2 separate regions of the Homo sapiens genome follow, and region 2 is linked to region 1. The links are contacts of gene promoters, found by promoter capture Hi-C in blood cells and fetal thymus (Javierre and others, 2016). All regions are on one chromosome and are shown on one strand. Each heading gives the region's core, a stretch centred on a gene start or on the middle of the fragment in contact. The rest is flanking DNA. Distances are from core to core; before and after follow the strand shown. Region 1 holds the start of ZBTB20 (zinc finger and BTB domain containing 20). Region 2 holds the start of ZDHHC23 (zDHHC palmitoyltransferase 23).

Region 1 (6,507 bases), core at 2,368-4,867:
CACACACACACATATATATGTCTCATTAGCGCCCTTATTAAAATCTAAGTCCCTGGGGAGCAAGACTTGATTTGATTAACTTTTGAATTCAGTATAGTGATCAGTTCAGGGTGTTACAAATATTTTCAGCTGCTTAAGAGTTAGGCATTCTTTGCTATGTATTCCTGTGCTGTATATGCCATATGTGTATGCAGCATAATTCATCCCTTTATTTCTCTCTTCCAAGACACAGTCAAGTCTTTGGAGAAAAATGCCAATTCTTCTGCTTAGTTGCTAAGTTCCTGGCATCTTAAATGTCCAATAATTATAGTTAGTATGAAGATACACACTTAGTACTTGTTGAATGAGTAAATAGTATAGTGGAAAGAGGCAGACAGACTTGAGTTTGAAAACAAGCTCTGCTACTTGTGACGCTGGATAAAGTATTCGAAGTCTGTGTCCTCATTAGTAACGTAAGTAGATTACATTTGCTACTAGTTTGGCCTCTTCTGGAGCCTTGGGAACTGTAAACTATAATCTGTGAAGGCAATAGGTAGACTAATGGACTAAAAGAAGTATAAAAGTCTTAAAATTCTTCTCTAAGCAGTCACTTGTATTTTCATTTTTTATCAATCTTGCCTTCTTCATCATCTTCCCTTCCGTGTTTTTGAGACGGAGTCTCGCTCTGTCGCCAGGCTGGAGGCAGTGGTGCAATCTGGGCTCACTGCAACCTCCAGCTCCCGGGTTCAAGAGATCCTCCCGCTTCAGCCTACCGAGTAGCTGGGACTACAGGCGCGCGCCACCACACCCAGCTGTTTTTTTGTATTATCTTCCCTTCCTTTCTTACCACATCTTGCTTATTTTATTCTTTTTCTCAATTCTGCTATTTGCTAACCAAGAAAACATCTCTCTTGATCCTTGACATAATTATGGAATTCTTGGTACATCTTTTGGGGTGTTTGTATCTGAGTGTGATCAAGGTATGTAGATGTGTAATGTAAATATGAAAATTGAGGGATTTCTTAGAGGCAGAAAGATTCTAATTCCAGTTTCTAATATCACACGAACAGGACATAACTACTACCTTAAATAGGGGCAGTAATACCTAGGGCTTCACCTTATCATTATTATTTGAATTAGAATATCTTGCATTGCTTTCCTAGTGTGCCCTATCATAATCTTAACTCTCATGCCAATAGGTTGAATAATACCTTTAAAATTTTGTTGAAAACAACAAGTTTTAAGAATGACTTGGAAGGAGTGGTCATTGCTCCTTGGAGAAGTTATAGGAGTAACTGTGTGAACGCCAATGTTAAATTTTACTGATTTTTCTCATGCGCTGCTGATTGTTCTGTATGGAATACTTATTATTCTTACTAAATCACTTTTTTTCTTTTTCATTTTTTTCTTTTTTTGTGAGACAGGGTCTTGCTCTGTCACCAGGCTGGAGTACAGTGGTGCGATCTCGCCTCACTGCAAGCTCTGCCTCGAGTTCCAGCGATTTTTCCTGCCTCAGTCTCCCTAGTGGCTAGGATTACGGGTGTGCGCCACCACATCCGGCTAATTTTTGTATTTTTTAGTAGAGACGGGGTTTCACCAGGTTGGCCACGCTACTCTCAAATTCCTGACCTCAAGTGTTCCGCCTGTCTTGGCCTCCTAAAGTGTTGGGATTACAGGTGTGAGCAGCTGCACCCAGTCAATATCACTTTTTAGCTAAGATTTATATATAAGTTTAAAAGTGTTTTGGCTTCCAAACTCACTAGCAATTCCCAGACTTCAAAATTGACACCACACACAGTAATTTTCTGGATTCTCAAAGCCTCATACATATAATCCTCACAAGATAGCTTTAATAGTATTAATGAGGTCAAGGCCCTTACTTTTTTTTTTTTCACCAGGGCCAATTTATTTTGCTTAGTTTCTGTCAAAGACCTCTAACCAGGCATCTTATGTGAAAGCATGCTGTACGTTCCAAAGAAGCCTGGGTTAAAATCCAGATGACTTAAGTCTATTGGAAATTATACATCAAATCCATGTCCTAGAAACAATGTCATTTTCAAATCCCAAGTACAGTGTATTCTTTGCATGCATGGTATTTTTGATAAAGTCTCTTATTTTGTGACAAAATATTGCTATATCAGCTGCCTAAAAAAGTGCAACTTAGTTTGGCAGTAATTATTTTTTTTTCTTTGTATAGTGAAAAGCGATTTCCCCAACCCTCCCATCTTGGCCCTTGTAAGAAATCCTTTTTAGGAATCTATCCTGGGCTTCCTGCTGGACTTCAGCCTCATTTTTTTCTCCAATGCCTGAGTACTGGACCAATATTTGGTAAGAATTTGGCTCTGGGGAGTGCTATGTTGAATGACAAATGGTTGAGGACGAAGATTTTATTGAAGCATTTGAACCACACTTAATTTTCCGTGTTGCTTTATTTGTTCCTTTTACCACCCAGGATATTGAATTCTGTGGGCTCTGGTTGAGTCGTTGGTACTTCAGGCGTTCAGTAATAAGAAACATAATCTGCTTTTTCCGGCAGGATAATAAATCTCATTTATATTAAGGGAGGCTTACTCCAAACTCTTTTACATAGTATTTTTCTAAATCTTCTGCATGAACAAATTCTTCCTTGAGCCCTAGCACTGGGGACCCGGTCTGGCAACCTGCGCCCCATTCCGCGGGAATCAAGCGTGACCCGGTGCGGCCTTGCGCGCTGCCGCCAGCCAGACCCTCCCTCCGGCTTTCCCACCCACCGCCCGGGATCCAGCCTCCATCCCGCTGCCTCAGCTGTCCAAGACAGCGACACCCCCCTCTCCGCTCCCGCGGCTCCCCCGGCGCAGCTCGCCGCGCCAGACAGCGGGTAACCGCCGCCTCCGCTGGGGCATCCCGGCTCCACAGGCCCAGCGCGCTCCAGACACCTGCCTCTCACTGGCCACCGCCGCTGCCCCTCACCCCGCAGCCCTCTCGGCAATTGGCCCCAGGCCGCCGCTCGTCATCCTCAGCCTTCTCCTAGAGTACCGCCTCCGTCGCCGGGTCATTTAAGTTTATCACAAATAAATAAATAAAGGAGGAAATAGAAATGCGTAGAAAGTAAAAGCAGTAGGGGGTGGGGGAGATGGGGCGTGGAGGAAAAGGAGGGAGGAGCGGAGGAGTAAGCAACCTAACCTGATTGCGCCTGTGTCGACCAATCATGGCTCACTCCAGTCCGGTCTGACGGGCTCCCTGAACCAATAGCCTTCCACCTCCCGGATCACTGAACAACGAGATACGATTGACCTTTTCAGAAAGGGTGAAGGTGCGGCGGGGGGAGGGGGTTGTGGGGGTGGGCGAAGTGGAAGGATTGTCCACCAATCGCCTGTTAATACTTCTCTGAGCGAAGTTTCCGCGTCCCAATGGATGTTTGAGATAGCGGATTGGGCCTCTTTTAGCCCAATCGAAGGTGACAGAGATGAGGGAAGAGGAAGAAAGGGGCGGGGACGGGGGGGCGGAGGGGAGAAGGAAGAGTGCATTTTGTTTATGGGCGGCAACCTCACGAGGGGCGTCCCATTCTCATTGGCTCACTGAAGCCAAGATTGGCGTGAGAGCTATCCTATAGCGGGGAGAGATAGAGGGTTCGCGGAGTGAAGCGTCCAATGTGGGCCTTCTGCCGAAGAAGTAGGGGCGGGGGGAAGTTTAGGAGTTGAGGAAAGAAGATTAAAGAGCGCGAGGAGGTAATGCCACAAACTCTAATTTGTTGTGGGACGGGCGGGAGAGAGGGAGGAGTGTGTGCGTGCCGAGGGGGATGAGGCGTCTGCGAGGCGCCTGGAGTGGGGGGCGGCGGGACTGGGAAGGAGGGGAGCGGGGTGGGGTTGGGGGAGCGAGTTACAGAGCGGCGAGCCAGCGGGCCCTGAGCTGGATGAGCGCGCGCGCCCCCGCGCCCCGCCCCGCCCCGCCCCGCCCGCGCCCCCTCCCCCGGCGCCCTTCTTAGCGCCCGGCGGCTGCCTCGCCCGACCCGGCGGGGAGGTGGGAGGGAGGCGCGGGAGGGTCGAAGGGTGGCGGGGCGGGCGGGACGTCCCGCAGCTGGAAACGTGTCTTCTGCCTTCTTCTCTCTACTCCCTGCGCCTGGAGCCGCTGCTTCCAAGAAGAGGAGCTGAGGGGGACTAGCCGGGGCTCAGGAGCTGCTAGAGGCGCCCGCTTGTCTTCTGCCCCCTCCCTCCTCGCCCTCCCCCGCTTGCCGTGGCTCTCGCGGTCTCTGGAGCGTCTTCAGAGAACTGGGGGGCAGGAGGTGTCCTGGCCCCACAGCCGCTGGATGTCTCTCCAGACGCCGGAGCTCCCGGCCCCCGCCTGCTTCGCTTCTACGACTAGAGAGGAGGGGGCTTGGGAAGGGAAGACACACCTTTCCTTCTTTCTCTTCTTTGGGCCACTTCGGAAACATTAAAACATGTTAACACTTTTTGATTCCTGATATAAAAATGGTTGGAAGGTTCTTGAAAGTTTAAAACAAATGCCGTCTCTCGTACACTGTTTAATGTATTCCTGTCTGTGTGGCTTTTGGGTCCTCCCCCCACCCCCCGCCCCCAGCTGTTATCCTTTTTAAGGATGCTGAAGAGGCAGGAGGCAGGGATTTTCTAAAAGTTCTATTGATAAACACACTTGCACAAACATATGCTAGGCACACACACAAACTAAACATTAGCGAAAAACACAATATGGCGTACAGCTACGGTACCTAGCGCGGTAATCCGCTGATCTCTCACTCCGAACTGGGTTGAATGAGGTCAGTAGCAGGATGACAGCTCTCCAATGAAAATCTGAATGAATCAGGAAGTAGTTTGGAAGCTTGCGGGTGTAGTACTGTCCTCAGAATCAGCATTGGCCAAACCTAAGTTGAACATGTTACCTTTCTAGACATGTGAAAATCTTCTCCACTGTTTTTTCTATTAAAAATACCAAAAGGGTGCTAAAGTCAAGTTTCCTCACTGCGTGGCGGTGTATACATTTCAGCTAAAAAAATTATAGAGGCCATTCACCCAATGTTTTCAAGTGAACGCTATTCTGAAGTTACTGTTGTAACTTGTTGCCATTGAAAGTTTTAAAACACAATTACCATTTTATAAATAAATAGCTGTAGACACTAAATTTAAGTGATAACCAGTCATCTTTAAATTTATAATGGTTTGTTTTCATTTCTGTTCATGCTCCCAATCCCAAGTACCCTTTGCTATTTTGTGGAAATATTTATATAGATCCCCCTCCACTCCCGGTCACATACAGTCAGCCCTTCCTGTGCCTGGGTTCTGCATCTGTGGATTTAACCAGCTGCAGATCAAAAATATTTTGGGTGTGGGGGAATAGATGGAATAGAATATATATAGTTTTTTTCTTGCCACAATTCCCTAAACAATACAGTGTAACAACGATTTATTAATACATGGCATTTACTTGTATTAGGTGTTATAAGTAACCTAGAGATGATTTAAAGTATGTGGGAGAATGTGATTAGGTTAAATGCAAATACTACACTATTTTATGTAAGGGACTTGAGCATCTGTGGATTTTGGTTTCCTAGAGAGGTCCCAGAACCAATCTCCCATGGATACTGAGGGTCAACTGTAAGTTTGTCCAGTCAAGATGTGGCTACTTTTTGCTTTTTTGCTTTAAAATGAAGAATCTGTATTTTTCTAGTGAAAGAAAAAAAATTACATTGATTTTCATGCCTTTGTTCTTTGTGATTCTTAGAATATATCAAAGTTGTTGCACACATAGTGCATGGTGATATCCCTGTGCCATCTTTCCAGTAGTCTCCCAGGAAAGCTTTTGAAATTGCCCTTGAGGAATTGCTGATGTAACTGTTCAGTACTCAAGGCTTAATTTTCAAGATTGGGGTTTTGATTTTTATGGAGCTCAATTTTGGAGGGCCTTAGGTTTGGGGACACATGGTGTTGAAGTAAACAGGTGAGAAGAAGAAAAGTGAGATTTCTAGAACTATATTAGCTGCTCAGTGAGTTGGGCAATTGGATATTTTTGGTTTTATGATTTCAGATTTTATAGACCAGTGGAATACAGGCCTTGTGCATATGAAGATCAGGTGACAAGTTTGCTGCCTACCAGCCTCCACAGCAATATGCCCTTTCACGGTGAGGTCCTAATTTTAACAAGCTAAAGAAAGTATCAGGTTAAAAATTGTCAAATTTTATCCATTTCCAGGAAGAAGTCTTTATGCTTACCCATCTAGGCCCGTGTTTTAAGATTACTACAAAACCAAGAAAATGCACATATAGGTCATGTGTACATTGACTAGCTACTAAAAGAAAATACGAGATTAAATGGAATACTAGAGGAAAGAGAAACTTTCATGTGAGGGCTATAATTGGGGAAGGGGGTGTTTAGAACTACCAGTTGATGTGATGCCAGTTTCTTCTATAATTGGATCAGAAAGTTTTTGAGGCCCGCAAACATCTAATTCCTCTTGTTGTCCTGTTAATAAGAATTTGACTACTTGGTATAGGAAGAAAATCTAAGGAAAAAATATTTTAAGCGAATCATTTTTGT
Region 2 (6,507 bases), core at 2,293-4,792, 1.2 Mb after region 1:
CTGCTGAGTGCCATCTGAAGTCTCTGCTCCCTACATTCTGGTGCACCCTCCATGGCAGCTCCAGGTGTGGCTCCACTGGGCCTAGGTATGCCATAGAGGCCACCCCTCTGAAGGGCATAGGTGGTAAATCTTGGTGGCATCCACAGGGTGCCAATGCTGCAGGCATCCAGAGTGTAGGAGCTGTAGAGGCCTGGCTGCCTCCACCTAGACTTCAAAGGATGCCCTGGAGAGCCTCGGGACCGAGGCAGAGGACTGCCACAGGGGTGGGGCCACCACAGAGAGCCCCCACTAGGGCACTGCCCAGTGGAGCTGTCATTGTGGTGGGGCCACTACAGAGAGACCCCACTGAGGCAATGCCTGCTTGGAGCTGTGGGGACAGGGTCACCCCCAAGAGCCCCGTAGAGCCACAAGCATACAACTCCAGCCTGGGAGAGCTGGAGGCACCTGTAGGAACTCCAACCCATGAGAGCTGCAGTGTGGGCTGTGCGCAACAAAGCTGTGGTGGCGGGGACACCCAGAGCCTTGGGGGCCCAACCGCCAACCCAGTGTGTCCAGAAGGCAGGACATCAAGTCCAAGATTATTCTCAAGCCTTATTAAGGCTTAACATTGTTTGCCCCACTGGGTTAGGACCTGTCAGTAACACTCCTTTCTTCCTGTTGTTCCCTTTTGGAATGGGAATGTCTATTCTATGCATGTCCTACCATCGTATTGTGGAAGCACCTAACTTGTTTGATTTCACAGGCTCACATGTGGAGGAGAACTTGTCTCAGGATGAATCGTATCTTGAAACTCATCCATATCTGATTTGGATGATGATATTCAGACCAGACTCTGGACTTAGACTTCTGAATTGACACTGGGATGAGCTAAGACTTTTGGGGCTATTAGGATGAAATCAGTGTATTTTGCATGTGAGAAGGACATAAATTTTAGGGAGCCAGGAAGTATCTGTGTCCCTCCAAAGTTCATTATGTTGAAACCTCATTCCCAATGCAATAGTATTCAGAGGTGAGACCTTAAGGAGGTGATTAGGTCATGAAGGCACAGCCCTCATGAATGAGACTTGTGCCCTTATAATAGAGCCCTATGAGCTTATTCACCCCTTCTGCCATGTCATGACACACCAAGAAGGTGTCATCTATGAGGAAAAGGGCCCTCACCAGACACTGAATCTGCCAGTGCCTTGATCTTGGATTTCTGAGCCTCTAGAACTGTGAGCAATAGATGTATATTGTTTACAAATTACCCAGTCTCAGGTATTTATTTTATCATAGCAGCCTGAACAAATTAAGACAGGCTAGTAAGAAAAGGTAGAGTTTAAGGAAAGGTAACTTTGATTTTAGACAATTTTTAAAGGTAAGACTAGAACTTAGAGATAACTAATTGGGAATCATACAGAGCAGCAGGCACGGTGGAAACACAGAGGAGAGGGGTACAGAGAGAGCAGAGGAGATGCCTCAGGGGACAGCCAAGGTCTCCAGGGCTAGGAGGGAGGAAGAGTTAGCAAGGTTAATGGAAGAGCTGCGGTCTTGAGTGATGGTGGTTATGGAAACAGCATCATTTCTCCATTCATTAGTGCAAAGTGCTCTATTTTCTCAGTATAGATTTCAGACTAAATCTAAAGAACCTATATTCAAAGACATCCATAAAAAAGACTACACAGTACACTGTCAAGTAAGAACGACAAAGGGTTCACTGGGTTTTTAATAGTCAAGGCTGGTACTAGACTGCAGACCCCAGGGAATGCTTTTCATGGCTGTATTAATGTATCAAGTTCTAAGTCAACAAATTGGCAGTTGCAATGACTTTTTTAACCAGAAATAATTATTAATGGGAAAAGCAAGTTTCCAACATCCCTATCCTTCCCACATTATGACTTCCATTGACAGTGATTTTTAAATATATAATTACTCAGAAAATGGATTAAAACCAGATTATTCACTGTCCGACACCAAATTTTTTCAGTGATGTTAAAAATTCTCTTTTTGGATAGTAATTTCCATCACTTGGAAAATAAAAGCCAAATACAGTATGATCAATCAAGAGTGTTGCTGGTCGCACTGAAAACTGTGAATCCAGGGGAGATACATGCCTTCTGGCTGGAGTTCCTCCCCAGAAACAAGGGGCAAGACCAGTACTAACAGCAGGAAAATGAAATTTCAACCCACAAGGCCCTCTGTGGTCAGGTGCCACCCAGTCCCAAGTAGTCAGTCTCTAAATGCTGAGACCTCTGAGAAGGCAGGAACTTTCTGGAACTATTGTGTTCATTTTAAACTTACAGATTCTGCTGGCTTGCATTTTATTTTATACTAACTTGCCTACTATCCCTTTAAACTGCCTGTTCTCTCCCTCATCTCTCTTTAAACGAAAAATAATATCCTATAAAACAGAGCAGACAGACAGCTGTGCACTACTGCGTAATCCATCTTTCTAAAATCCTCACACTTGACACAGAAGCCAACTCTCATTTTAGATGCTTGGAAATAGAATCAAGAGCAAATTCTAGCATTCTGGGTGGCTAGGTTGAAAGTACACATGGCAGTTCTCAGAAGGGTGATGGGGCCAGCGTCAAGAAATGCTCTGTTCTTACCGATCACACCCTTCATCCAGATCTTGACAATCACACAAACAAGTAGCCACGTGGTTCTTTTCCCCATTCCGATCTATGTACTCGCAGCAGCACAGGGGCTCCAATTCAGGTTCTTCGGTTTTCTTTTTCTTCACAGGCTTCATACTGCCCTTCTGTGTCATGATTTGCACCTGTCACCATGAGGCGTAAGAAGCCCTCAGAAGGTAAAGGTGGAAAGAACACAACTTACATCTCGTAAATAGGTCCACGCCTCTCTCTCTCTGCTTAACCTCCAACGCCTGAGCAATCAAAAATGAGAAGAGAGAGGGGGAGGGGGTCCCGTTTTCATCAGGCTTCTGTGGCTCCGCCTGGCCACACAGGGGGCTCCAGGGTTCTTGGAGGTCTGAGCTGCCTTCACCGCCCCTTCCCAGCCTGGGCAGGCGCCGTCTGGGCACCAGCCGTTCCTATGGCGACAGCCGACCACGCGTCCGGGACAGCCGGGGCGCGGGCGGTTGCGCTCACCTGCGGGTGCAGGCTGGGAGGGCCGAGCGGTCTCCGCTCCAAGCCTGGGCGCTGGTGGGAACTCAGCCTCGGGGCTATAGGGAAAGGCGAAGCATATGCCCGCTAGCAGCGGCTGACACACCAGGCTCCCTGGCAGTGCTCAGGGGTCGCGGTCCAGCCCAACTGGTCGGGCCCCTTGCAGGGTGCGCCTCTCCCGCCCCCGCCAATCCGGAGGACGTGGGCGGGCCTCGCGCACCACCCCGCCAGGAGAATGACCTTGGAAGGGAAGTTACCTGCCCTCTGGCCGGAGGTGCAACTGCAGCCAAAGAGGCGGAGGGGAGATGGGTCGGCTTCCCCGGAGGCACAGACGCGTCTCCCGATCTCTGCTACGCGGAGCCCCGGGCGTGACGGCAGGAGTCTCCGGGACCCGGGCTCCGCTCGGCCGCTCCCTCGCCGCAGCCGCCCACCTGTGACCACAGCCCGCCGCGGCCCGGGCGGCGCGCCCGCCTCCCCGCGCCGTCCCAACCGCCCCTCCGCCCGCCCGGCTCGGTGCGCCAGGTCCACGCGCGCTTCCGGGTGCCCCGCCCCCGGCGCCGGGGTTCCCCGCCTGTCCGCACGTGCGCCGCCCGCCTCCCCGCGGTGCCCGCGGGCGAGGCTCCTCCTCCTGGCCCGCGGCCCTGGCGCCGGGAAGGGGAAAATCGGCTCCCGAGAGCGCGTCCAGGAGGCAGGGGCAGGAGGTGGGTCCCGCACCTCCGGCCTGCCCCGCCACGCCACGCCCCGCCCCGCCCCAGAGGCGGCAGCCGGGCGCCGCCGGTGCCTGCGGGCGGCGCGCCGGTGGGACAGCCTCCGGAGCCCCGGGGTGCGGACGAGGTGCGGAGACGGAAATACGGGAAACCCGGGAACCCGGAGGATTTCCGAACTACGTGAGACCGTGGAGCCGCCAGCCTTCATTCAGACTCCGGCAACAGGCGGTGAGGGAGCTTTCCACCGCAAAATGTTATCCAAGTACCTCCCCCAGTTTCGCTGACCTTCTCTTAAAGGCCCATCACTGCTGCCGGATCTGTTCATTTAGCAACCTGTTCGTTTCATGATTTCTGGCTAGCAGCCTTTACATTGGACCAGCAGGCCTCGCTAGTACTTTTGTTCCAGTCGTCTGTGTATTTGAGATGAAACTGCCCTGAGATGAGAGTCCTTTTTGGGTTTTATTATTGCACAAAATTTCTTTAAAGAGTGTGGGCCCATGTACACGTTTCACTACCGCAGGCTTTCTAGTTTTGTTTTTAAGTAGAAAAAGAAGAAAAACTACAACTCAGAAATTTTCAATTTTATTAATATTCAATTTACGTAACAGGCTCAAATTTTATTAATTGAATTCTGCATCCATACGAATTTAGTCTTAATTTATAAAGCAACTTACTTCGATACTCTTCCTTGAAGTATGTTATAAAATACAACGTTTAAATAAACATCACAAAAATATTGTTTGTCGATCATTTTTGTGACTTTAACAGAGAAATCTTCAAGTTTATAATCCACTCATTCTTGCTTACAGCCAGACACTACATAAATCCTTACCAAAACAAAACAAACCCAGGTAGGTTCACTGTTACCCCTAGGTATGCTTCGTTGGAATTCACCCAGAGAAACCCATTTTCCCTCTAACGGAGTCAATACTTTCATTCTCTACAGGCATCTCAAAAATGACTATAATAATGCCATGTGGCTTTGGGGACTCTGGAGAAAAATGAAACATTTAATTAAAGGCAATAGTTGTTCAAACAGTAAGAATGTATACACAGTTTATATATAGATAGATAGATGGATATGTATTTTTTCCCCAGAGAAAGGGCTCAAGAGACAAAACAGTAAAACACTTCAACTTTCCCTAACTCTTGAAAAAATATCTGATTTTAAGTCAGTTTACAAAGTTCTTATTTTAATGAGCCACTTGTATGGAGACACATATGCATAAAAACTTTTTATGAAAGAGCCAAAGCTTGCATCTGAGTTAAAACTTGATAGTCAGTACACTTGTACTGGGACATACGTGCCCCTGAAGTTTTTATTAAAGAGCTAAAATCTATGTCTGGCTTATAACTTACCAATCAAAACAAGTCACACACATACATAAAGAAGGAAGCCATACATGGTTACTGAAAATACACAAATTATTTTCAACCAGATGTGTCACTTCCACCATGAAAGACTGCTAAGCTGAAGCCAATCTTAGTTCAAGTATGCATTTGATCTGTCACTAAATGCCCAGATTTTAACATAACCTTCTGGTTTTTAAAACTCAGAGGATGGTTCTTCCTTTTGACTGTTGGTATTCTAAGTGAGGAGGCAAGATAATCCCACCTCTGATAGTTACCTTAAGAAAAAACAACTATTTCTTTCATAAAGATACAGCATGGCAGAAGACCCTTTCTGATAATCATCATCAACATGCAGATTCAAAAAGTTTGACTATTAAATTTGCATGCTAAATAAATGAAGACATTATAATCTTTACAGTACACAAACCTGGAAATGTTATATGCCTGAAAACAGAACCTTTAAAATCAGTAATGACATAGAGGTTTCTTCTTATATTGTCCTGTTTATCCTCTTGGTCTTATCTCAGTTACAAAAGCGACCTATTGGACATGTACGGATTCTGTGCTAACAAAGCATCAGACTTCACTGTAGAAATGAGACCATACCACTCAATTCAGGGTGTGTCATTTTCTTTTTGTATCAGAGAAATTCAGTTCTATAATATATTTCATGGTTCACTGAAGAAATTCACAGCTTAAAAATATCTATAAGAAGTGAAAGGATGGATTATTAAGGCCAGCAGAAACTAATTATCAAATAAATGTTACTGAAAGAAATGTTCATATTAGAAATCTCAATAATGAAAAAACATAGAAATGTTCTATGCCAAAATCCTTCATTCGTCTGGTTTTCTTCCAGGTATTTTCTTTAAGTTCCAAGTATCTCTGCGGTTTTAGTCCTTCAGATCACTAGCTTTCAACAGCCATGCCAGTCTTATTCTTATTTAGTAGATCAAACGTTTTCTGAAGCATAATGAGTGAGCTCTTCAGCTGTAAACAAAGTTAATTTTCAAAATCAGATTAATTTTTCTAATCAGATTTGAAAATTTCTGTTTTTTATGCCCAAAATTTACAGTGACACTTAATATAGTTTTGTTTATACTGATGCCCAAATAAAACGTTAAATACAAAATACCTGATTCTTTGGGGTATCTATCAGTATGATTGCTACAGAGTTCTTCCCATTTGCTGGAGTATTGTACTTCTTCCTACTGCTACATAGTCTACCTCCCAATAGGTCCATTAATCAAATTAAGCGTAGTGACAGACTCGTTTTCCTAAAAGATTTCTGAAGTTGCAGTGGTCTCCTCACTATCCCCTAAACAACTCAAGTTTGCTTC

The links. The method cuts DNA at HindIII sites, captures the fragments that hold promoters and counts their contacts. A CHiCAGO score of 5 or more calls a contact.
Region 2: a contact is called between the fragment with the promoter of ZDHHC23 here and the fragment with the promoter of ZBTB20 in region 1, in 1 of 17 cell types (neutrophils). The highest score is 5.3, in neutrophils.

Annotation. Positions count from the first base shown.
Region 1 is chr3:115,144,398-115,150,904 of GRCh38, reverse strand. It overlaps ZBTB20 (zinc finger and BTB domain containing 20), which reads left to right and starts at 3,617. Exons shown (of 12, transcript NM_001348800.3): 1 at 3,617-3,686. RefSeq lists silencers at 2,622-2,841, 3,402-3,571, 3,882-4,151 and enhancers at 2,892-3,101, 4,832-4,941. The HindIII fragment of the contact is 9,545 bases long and covers 1-4,796 here.
Region 2 is chr3:113,945,048-113,951,554 of GRCh38, reverse strand. It overlaps ZDHHC23 (zDHHC palmitoyltransferase 23), which reads right to left and starts at 3,542. Exons shown (of 5, transcript NM_001320466.2): 1 at 3,365-3,542; 2 at 2,592-2,869. The coding sequence starts at 2,752. GRAMD1C (GRAM domain containing 1C) reads right to left here. Exons shown (of 18, transcript NM_017577.5): 18 at 4,381-6,157. The coding sequence ends at 6,077. RefSeq lists silencers at 2,960-3,059, 3,410-3,909 and an enhancer at 3,624-4,124. The HindIII fragment of the contact is 7,070 bases long and covers 1-5,069 here.